Regions from separate parts of the Homo sapiens genome. Here region 2 is linked to region 1. Evidence: promoter capture Hi-C in 16 types of primary human blood cells and fetal thymus (Javierre and others, 2016). All regions are on one chromosome and are shown on one strand. The core of a region is centred on a gene start or on the middle of the fragment in contact, and the rest is flanking DNA. Distances in the headings are between cores, read along the strand shown. Region 1 holds the start of SLC12A2 (solute carrier family 12 member 2). Region 2 overlaps CCDC192 (coiled-coil domain containing 192).

Evidence for each region. Contacts are between HindIII fragments. The CHiCAGO score rates a contact against its expected background, and 5 or more counts as called.
Region 2: a contact is called between a fragment that was not itself captured here and the fragment with the promoter of SLC12A2 in region 1, in 1 of 17 cell types (endothelial precursors). The highest score is 5.5, in endothelial precursors.

The regions. Positions count from the first base shown.
Region 1 is chr5:128,081,397-128,085,461 of GRCh38, forward strand. SLC12A2 (solute carrier family 12 member 2) reads left to right here and starts at 2,370. Exons shown (of 27, transcript NM_001046.3): 1 at 2,370-3,314. The coding sequence starts at 2,559. It overlaps SLC12A2-DT (SLC12A2 divergent transcript), which reads right to left and starts at 1,779. Exons shown (of 4, transcript NR_152813.1): 1 at 1,574-1,779. RefSeq lists a silencer at 2,034-2,863 and an enhancer at 3,354-3,523. The HindIII fragment of the contact is 20,683 bases long and covers 1-4,065 here.
Region 2 is chr5:127,938,386-127,942,878 of GRCh38, forward strand. CCDC192 (coiled-coil domain containing 192) reads left to right here. Exons shown (of 7, transcript NM_001317938.2): 7 at 2,797-3,122. The coding sequence ends at 3,083. It overlaps SLC12A2-DT (SLC12A2 divergent transcript), which reads right to left. Exons shown (of 4, transcript NR_152813.1): 4 at 2,055-2,835. Among named protein-coding and RNA genes, the nearest start is that of SLC12A2-DT, 140 kb to the right of the region's middle. The HindIII fragment of the contact is 877 bases long and covers 1,839-2,715 here.

The sequences.
Region 1 (4,065 bases), core at 1,120-3,619:
TCACTCACTTCCTTACTCAAATATCACCTTCTCAGTGAGGCCATCCTATGGAAAATTTTATGATCCTCATTTCACACAAATATCCCATTTCCCTTTCCTTAGTACTCACTGCTTGGATGCTATGTATTTTACCTATTTATCTTGTCTATTGTTTCTCTTTCTCACTAGAAAGAACTCCATGAGAGATGGGATTGTCCGTTTTGCTCACTGCTATATCCCGTAAATACAGAGTAGCTCATAGTACCTGTTCAGTATTTATTCAACTAAATGAATGTTGAATTCCAATAGTGGCAGAATTCGTTGTGGAGCTGAAAGGTACTGCACGGATCAACTACTAATGCAGCAATTCCCTAGTAGAAAACTGCACTGCTTAAAGGACCACCTCATTTTTCTGGCCTCCTCTGGTTATTACTAAAGCTCAAAAGGAGCTTTAAAAATCCTGATGCAACAGCTGTTTTCCCCTCTCACCGTCTTTAAAAATAGAGATAATAAAATAGCCTGAAAAGTTGTCAAGTTCAAGTAAGATCATGTTTATGACAATTTTTTGAAAATTGCCTGGTTGCAGCTTTTACTTACAGCATTTTCAAACAGTTCTGCCAACTCTGTGGCTCTTTCATCATGTTTCAAGTGTTCAGCAAACGATGGTGTTCGTCTCCATAAAGTCAAAGTTTAAAAATACAAGGGCCGGGCGCGGTGGCTCATGCCTGTAATCCCAGCACTTGGAGAGGCGGAGGTGGGCGGATCACGAGGTCAGGAGATCGAGACCATCCTGGCTAACACGGTGAAACCCCGACTCTACTAAAAATACAAAAAATTAGCAGGGCGTGATGGCGGGCGCCTGTAGTCCCAACTACTCAGGAGGCTGAGGCAGGAGGAGAATGGCGTGAACCCAGGAGGCGGAGTTTGCAGTGAGCCAAGATCGCACCCCTGCACTACAGCTTGGGCGACAGAGCGAGACTCCGTCTCAAAAAAAAAAAAAAAAAGTACATAAATAAAAACCAAGTAATTGGAGGACGCCATTCATTGATTTTACTTAGGACTTTGGGCATAATCTATAGGTTTAAAAATTTCTGCTGCTAAGAAAGTGGGAACACAGTTATATTCCCTTACATTTTACCGAAGAGAAACTAGACCTGCAGAGGAGTACCTTTCTGTTTCTATATAAGCAGAGGAATTCTGCACAACCCAAATCACGCAGAAACCTCCTGGTAAGGACTCCACGGGTAGTTATTGCCGGCATTGTATTCTGAGAGATGAGCTGCATATCACTTTTGGAAATGCCTTAAATTAAAACTCGTCTTGAAACAACATGACGTCTCAAAGAAGCTCCCTTCTCACCTTGGAACATCAGCTTTTAAAATAAAGGTGTCATCAGAAGTGTGTAGACACCCACTGCATCACAACTGGAACTGATCTCTGGTTATGCCAATCTAGGTCTGCCTGGCAGGGTGAGTCTACCGCTCGAAAGCTGCACAGAGGAAATCCTCCCTCCTCCAGGTTCAGGCCCGGAGTTACGAGCGGAGATTCGCGGCGGCGGGTCAGAGCCCAGAGCAAACCAGGCTGGGGAACGCACCTCGCCCGCGGCTCCGGAAGCGGCTGCGGCCCCGACCGGAAAGCCCCCAGCATCGCCCGAAGGAATCGCGGCTGGCCTGCGGCTCCGGCCCGGCCTCGGGTACCACGCGCCTAGTGGGAAGCCGCACTGACGCCTGCAGCATCTCGCGAGATTTCGGGCTCAGCCCAAGTACTGCGAGTTCACCAAAGCGGGGGGAAAAAAAAAAAGCCAGCGTGCGAGAGCCTCTGAAGCCGTGGCTGGGGCGCTGGGGTGGCAGCTGCCGCGGGAGCATCAGCTACCGGCGTGAGGCGAGGCAGGGCACGCGCGCCGTCCGCAGCCCCGTTGCCTGGGCTGCAGGTCCACTGACGCGCGGCCCCTGGGTGGAGAGAGGGGAGGTGGCCTGGGAGCCCGCTCCTTTTCGCCGCAGAGCGCGGCGGGGGAGGGAGGTGAAGGCGTGGGAGGAAGGCGGCGGAAGAGGAGGTAGCCGCGCGGAGATCCTCCCGGCGACATCACTGAGGCGGAGCGTAGCCGCGCCTGCTCCCCGATCGCGCCGTTCGTGCTGCCCGCACTGCCCGAGGCCCTTTGCGGACTGGCTGGCCGCGCTCTTCGCACGGGGCGCTTTTGCGTGGGGTCGCGCAGGAGCCGCGGAGGGCCGGATCGCTGAGGGAGCGTCAGCCGCGCGCCGCTGCGGGACCGCGGGTGGGCGGGCTGAGGGGCGGAGGAGCCTCCGGCCCCGCCTCCCGCGTGCTGCTGCCGGAGCCGCCGCCGCCGCAGCCCCGCCGAGGCTTTAAACAGCGGGGCCCGCCCCGCGCCCGCCACACTCGCGCGCTCGCTCGGCTGCCGGTGGCCTCTGTGGCCGTCCAGGCTAGCGGCGGCCCGCAGGCGGCGGGGAGAAAGACTCTCTCACCTGGTCTTGCGGCTGTGGCCACCGCCGGCCAGGGGTGTGGAGGGCGTGCTGCCGGAGACGTCCGCCGGGCTCTGCAGTTCCGCCGGGGGTCGGGCAGCTATGGAGCCGCGGCCCACGGCGCCCTCCTCCGGCGCCCCGGGACTGGCCGGGGTCGGGGAGACGCCGTCAGCCGCTGCGCTGGCCGCAGCCAGGGTGGAACTGCCCGGCACGGCTGTGCCCTCGGTGCCGGAGGATGCTGCGCCCGCGAGCCGGGACGGCGGCGGGGTCCGCGATGAGGGCCCCGCGGCGGCCGGGGACGGGCTGGGCAGACCCTTGGGGCCCACCCCGAGCCAGAGCCGTTTCCAGGTGGACCTGGTTTCCGAGAACGCCGGGCGGGCCGCTGCTGCGGCGGCGGCGGCGGCGGCGGCAGCGGCGGCGGCTGGTGCTGGGGCGGGGGCCAAGCAGACCCCCGCGGACGGGGAAGCCAGCGGCGAGAGCGAGCCGGCTAAAGGCAGCGAGGAAGCCAAGGGCCGCTTCCGCGTGAACTTCGTGGACCCAGCTGCCTCCTCGTCGGCTGAAGACAGCCTGTCAGATGCTGCCGGGGTCGGAGTCGACGGGCCCAACGTGAGCTTCCAGAACGGCGGGGACACGGTGCTGAGCGAGGGCAGCAGCCTGCACTCCGGCGGCGGCGGCGGCAGTGGGCACCACCAGCACTACTATTATGATACCCACACCAACACCTACTACCTGCGCACCTTCGGCCACAACACCATGGACGCTGTGCCCAGGATCGATCACTACCGGCACACAGCCGCGCAGCTGGGCGAGAAGCTGCTCCGGCCTAGCCTGGCGGAGCTCCACGACGAGCTGGAAAAGGTGAGCTCGCCCAGCCCTCCCTTCTTCCCCAGCCCCTGGTGCATGCCGACCGCGGGATGTGGCTGCAGACTCTTCCCGAGTTGAGGTGGCGGGAGTAGTAGACGTGCACGACTTGCTGGCATCTCTGGATTCAGCTGTCAAGGGTGGAATTGCCGAGGAATGTTAACTTAATCTCTCAAAAGTTTGTAGCGGGTTTGGCTAGTTACGTGATACCGGAGGGCTGCCTCTAACAACCTTCCCCATCCAGTTAGGTATCTCGTGTGCACTTTCTTTCCCACCCACGCTCAACAGTCACCATCCCTCTGAATGACAGTAGTGTTTGTGGGCCCTTTAGAGGAGAATGTGCAGTGAGGATCTCTCGAGAGAGGTTGGAGAGCACCTACCATCTGTGTCGTTTTGAAAGATTGTGTTGTGTGGCTTATGTACGCCTATTAGGGATCGCAAGAGTGGGAATGTTGCTGTTTGAAGGAAAACCTTAACAGGGTGTGTTTATGGTCTATGAGTTATTAAAGCTCAATTCTTGCAATCTTGAATATACAAAGGATCATAGAGATCTTGTCTTGGGACACGCTGTTCCTAATAATGGCATAACTCTTTTTTTTTGCGATGAAAACGTTTTGGGAGAGGTGTATATTTAAAAAAAAAGGGACAGAGGCGAGTCTTTAAAGAAAAAAGGGAAACAGGAGAATTGGTTTTTCTGTAGAGGATGACCAGAAAGACCTGTGGGGTCTTTGCCATAAGCAGTTACACT
Region 2 (4,493 bases), core at 1,027-3,526, 140 kb before region 1:
AATGCTTGAGGACCAGAGATCCTCCCTCTCAAACAATATCTGTGCAGGTTAACTAGAGCCATCTCCAGGTAACACATCCACCTGGGTTTCAGAGAGAGCTCATCTGGAAGGAAATGCTAGCCCAGCATTATCCAACAGAAATATAATGGGAGCCACAAATGCAAGCCATGTATTTTAAATTTTCTAGGAGCCACATTTTTAAAAACATAAAAATAAGTCAGTTAAATTATTTTAAAAATACATTTTCTTTAACACAATGTATTCTAAATATTATCATTTTAATGCATAAGCAATATAGAAAATTTGAAGTATTTAACATTTTTTAAACTAAATCTCCCAGTCAAATGTGTATTTTACATTAAAGCACATTTTTATTCAGACTAGCCACATTCCATTGCTTAATGGTCACATGTGACTAGTGACTACTGTATTGGACAGCACAGCTCCAGCCAAATGAAAGGAAAGGTGAGACCCTGGCACATCAGGAGATGAGGAAGGCCTCCTGCCATATGGACTCCCTCTCCTGGGCTGGAAAGCACAGGCATGAAAGGAAAGGTGAGAGCTTGGCACACCAGGAGATGAGGAAGGCCTCCTGCCATATGGACTCTCTCTCCTGGGCTGGAAAGCACAGGCTTATCGCAGAGGCAATGAACTAAATGCTTTTTTGAAATTTGAGCTGTTTTCCCGTTGCTTGTTAACTTATGAAAGGCACTCAAACCAACATCTTTTTTTTTTTTTTTTTTTTTTTTTGAGATGGAGTCTCACTCTGTCGCCCAGGCTGGAATGCTGTGGCACAATCTCAGCTCAATGCAACCTGCAACTCCCAGGTTGAAGTGATTCTCGAGCCTCAGCCTCCCGAGTAGCTGGGATTACAGGTGTGCACCACCACACCTGGCTAATATTTGTATTTTTAGTAGAGATGAGGTTTCACCATTTGGCCAGGCTGGTCTTAAACTCCTGACCTCAAGTAATCCACCTGCTTCAGCCTCCCAAAGTGCTGGGATTACAGGCGTGAGCCACCGTGCCCCACCTTCAAACCAACATCTTAAATATTATTGTTATAATATTAAACATTCTAACAAATTCAGAGCAAAAATTTCCCCATGGATTCTTAAATGTTAGTAAAGAGCTAATAATTTCTAAGAGCAGAGAATAGCCTGTTGTCTCCTCTTATCACTTTTATGAAGCCAAAAACACCCTGCCCACTGTGCAATATGCTGCCAAAGATTTTACCCCTTGATCCCTTGGGAATGTGATGACTGCCAATTAATTTTATTTGTTGAGAAACGGGTTATTTTTATGTTTTTTTTTTTTTTTGCCTGCGCGCACTACTACAGCAAAGCTGGTCCATTTTCAGCAGGTGTATAGGTACCTAATAGCAGCAGGCTTTTGTATCTGAGACTGACAGTAATGTTTCTCTCAGGTGAAGCTGTGAGATTTGTTTTCACTGGGAATCTCATAAATGTGGGACCTCAATTGTAACAATCTACCGTGGAGACCACGCATCAGGTTCATTCATACATGCCATAAGCTCCATTAGTGCTGAAATGATACCCAAGCCCTTGATATCTCTTCCTACTTATACCTAAGTCTGCCTTTTATATAGCTCCGAGACATTTAATGCTGGAAATTTTGAGAGTGGTGGGGTACTGCTAAAGGCTAGTAAGATGGACTTGAGTTTAAGGTGCTGCATTTTTTGATGGGCTAGAGAGGTGTGTTTTCAAGGACTCCTTATGGCCACTCATCTTTTATCTCTTTGTGGAACCTCTCTCTGTCCTTTCTGACTCAGGCCTTTATCCTCATCTGAGTGGTTAACTGATAGAAATTGATAAAGGATAAGCTTTCATGTCCAAGAGGTATCTGTGATTTTATTAAGAAGTGCCAAAAAGACTTCAGGCCTAAAAGAAATGAATCTGTATGGGAAATACCATGCTAATAGAGTTTTCCTGGATCACCTCAAATTGCATCCTTGCCGACTCTAAAGCTGACTTGGGTTAAGAAACTAGTCTTTCCTCATTATCACTTTCCCCAGAAAGGGCAATGGCAACCTTTTCGTTATTTATTTATTTATTTATTTATTTATACACAGAGTCTCGCTCTGTCGCCCAGGCTGGAGTGCAGTAGCATGATCTCGGCTCACTGCAACCTCTGCCTCCTGGGTTCACGCCATTCTCCTGCCTCAGCCTCCCGAGTAGCTGGGACTACAGGCGCCTGCCACCACGCCCGGCTAATTTTTTGTATTTTTAGTAGGGATCGGGTTTCACCGTGTTAGCCAGGATGGTCTCGATCTCCTGACCTCGTGATCCGTCCACCTCAGCCTCCCAAAGCGCTGGGATTACAGGCATGAGCCACCGCGTCCGGCCCTCATTTTTTATTTTCAATTGAATTAGAATTCAAATCAAAGCATAATTCTACTTGATTATAGCTCTTGTGAAAGATTCTTAGGGAAAAGAATAACATGAACGTTAGGATGGCCTTTGTTTGTAGATTGGATTTTCATGAATTATTCCCATGGTTAACTGAAAGTTAAATGCATATAAACAAGAGTTGGCAAGGGCTGATGCTGTACACTCTCAAGAGGCTCCCAAGTTTTGTTTTGTTTCTTTTTTCATGAGCACCCAGAATCTTTCCTCTCACTGGATCCAGATTTTATTCTCAGGGTATCTAACCAGATGATGCAACATCTGTGCTCTCTTTTAAGAACGTGAGAAATGAAGCTTTTTCATTTTTCCTTGCTTTGACTTCTGGGAAATCTAATCAAAACTGCTCAGACTTTCCTTTTCTTGTTTGCTTTAGAAGACAGCTTGCTGGAAGGGTTCTGTGGAGGTCTCCCACCTGTGGAAGAAGGTGATAGAAAAATTAGCCTGATAATGGAACTGTCAACCCAGGTTTCCCTTCAGACTGAGAGAATTACTCAGCTGAAAGAAGTTTTGGAGGAAAAGGAAAGGAAGATTCAGCAGCTGGAAGCTGAGCGGAGTCCCCATCCTCCCCAAGAGGTCAAGGACCCTCCAGGATGTTTACCAGAAGCCCCAGTTTTCTCTACTCATGACATCCCACCTGTGGTCTCTGATGAGAATTTGTAGATTCCCAATAAGAAAACAATAAAAGTTTATTAAGTGTCATCCAGGTAAAGTCTGATACCAAATAGTCTCCTAGGTGACAAACTCAAGTTCAAGTTCATGTGTTTGAATGTATACTATCATGTTCGTATTGGAAGGAAACAAAAAAAAGGAAATGTTCAAGAGCAAACACTGAATGTTTCCCCTTTGGACAGTAATAGTCACGTAAACCACGCAGCTGTAGAATACTATGTTTTTAGACATTCCTGGTAGCAGTGGGGGAGGGAAGAAAACAAAACTAGACAGATGGTGAAAGAACTTAGCATTATCCTCTTAGCAGAGATTTGTCACACTGCAAGGGAGGGGTGGCACCAACCCCGTTTAGTATGCAGCTCTATTGTGAACAGAAAGCTGTCGCGGAGGGCCAGCTTCAAACTCGTGAATGCGCGGGTACTAAAGAGCAGGAGCTAAAGAGCAGGAGCCGTCAGCAGAGTAAATAGCCATGAGGTCTGTCCTTTCATGTCCTCAGGAGTTTATTTCTTTATGGCATGCATTTTATTAACATTAGCAAGGATAGAAAGGAAATAAAACTAAAGCAATAAAAAAAATTAAAAATGGGTGAATCAAAGCTGCATTCCTTTGGGAAAAGTGTCCTGGTACAGCATCTCCCTGGGAAAACACACAACACTGATTTTTCCCTTAGGAACAAGACTAAAACCAAAGCAAAATACAATCTTCTGTTATGATTGTACCAATGAGCTGTGAACAGTGCAAAACACTGGCAGGAATAATGGAGAATGGGCAACGGAAACCTGCCCTGTAATTAATGGAATAAAAGAAATCGGATCATATTCCTCTTCCACTCAACCCCTTCAAATAAACTATTTTCCACTCAAAGGGAGCAGCTAGGCACTAACTGTGAGGAAGACTTCGGTCCTTAGTTCTTCCTGTTCTGGTACAGCATGACTCAGGCAAACAGCTCTAGTTTCATGAGTATGACTGTAATGCTAGTTCTCAATTTAATTCAACCAGTTCAACAAATCCTCATCAAATACTCTTCTATCTGGAAGGCACAACTGTAGATGTTAGAAATCACAGCAAACATGAGAATCACCATTTTCACCATCCAGAAGTTCATAGACACACAAGGATCTCCTTAAAGTAAGGCTGATTGTATTGAGAGATGGGAAATGGGAGAAGGGAAGTGGGTGAAAGTGGGGTAAACCTGATCAGCATTGTTTCAGCAGAGGTTCTCAGATATACTGAGCATGAGTAATCAGCAAGAATGTATATTCCTGGCCTCTAGTTTAGGGCCCAGGAATATGCATTTTAATAAACACATGTGGTATTCCTGATGAATTTATTCCAGAAACTACATTTAGGCCACATTGGCTTAGGGATGGCTTCAAGCAGACCTATTATACTTTTGCTCCC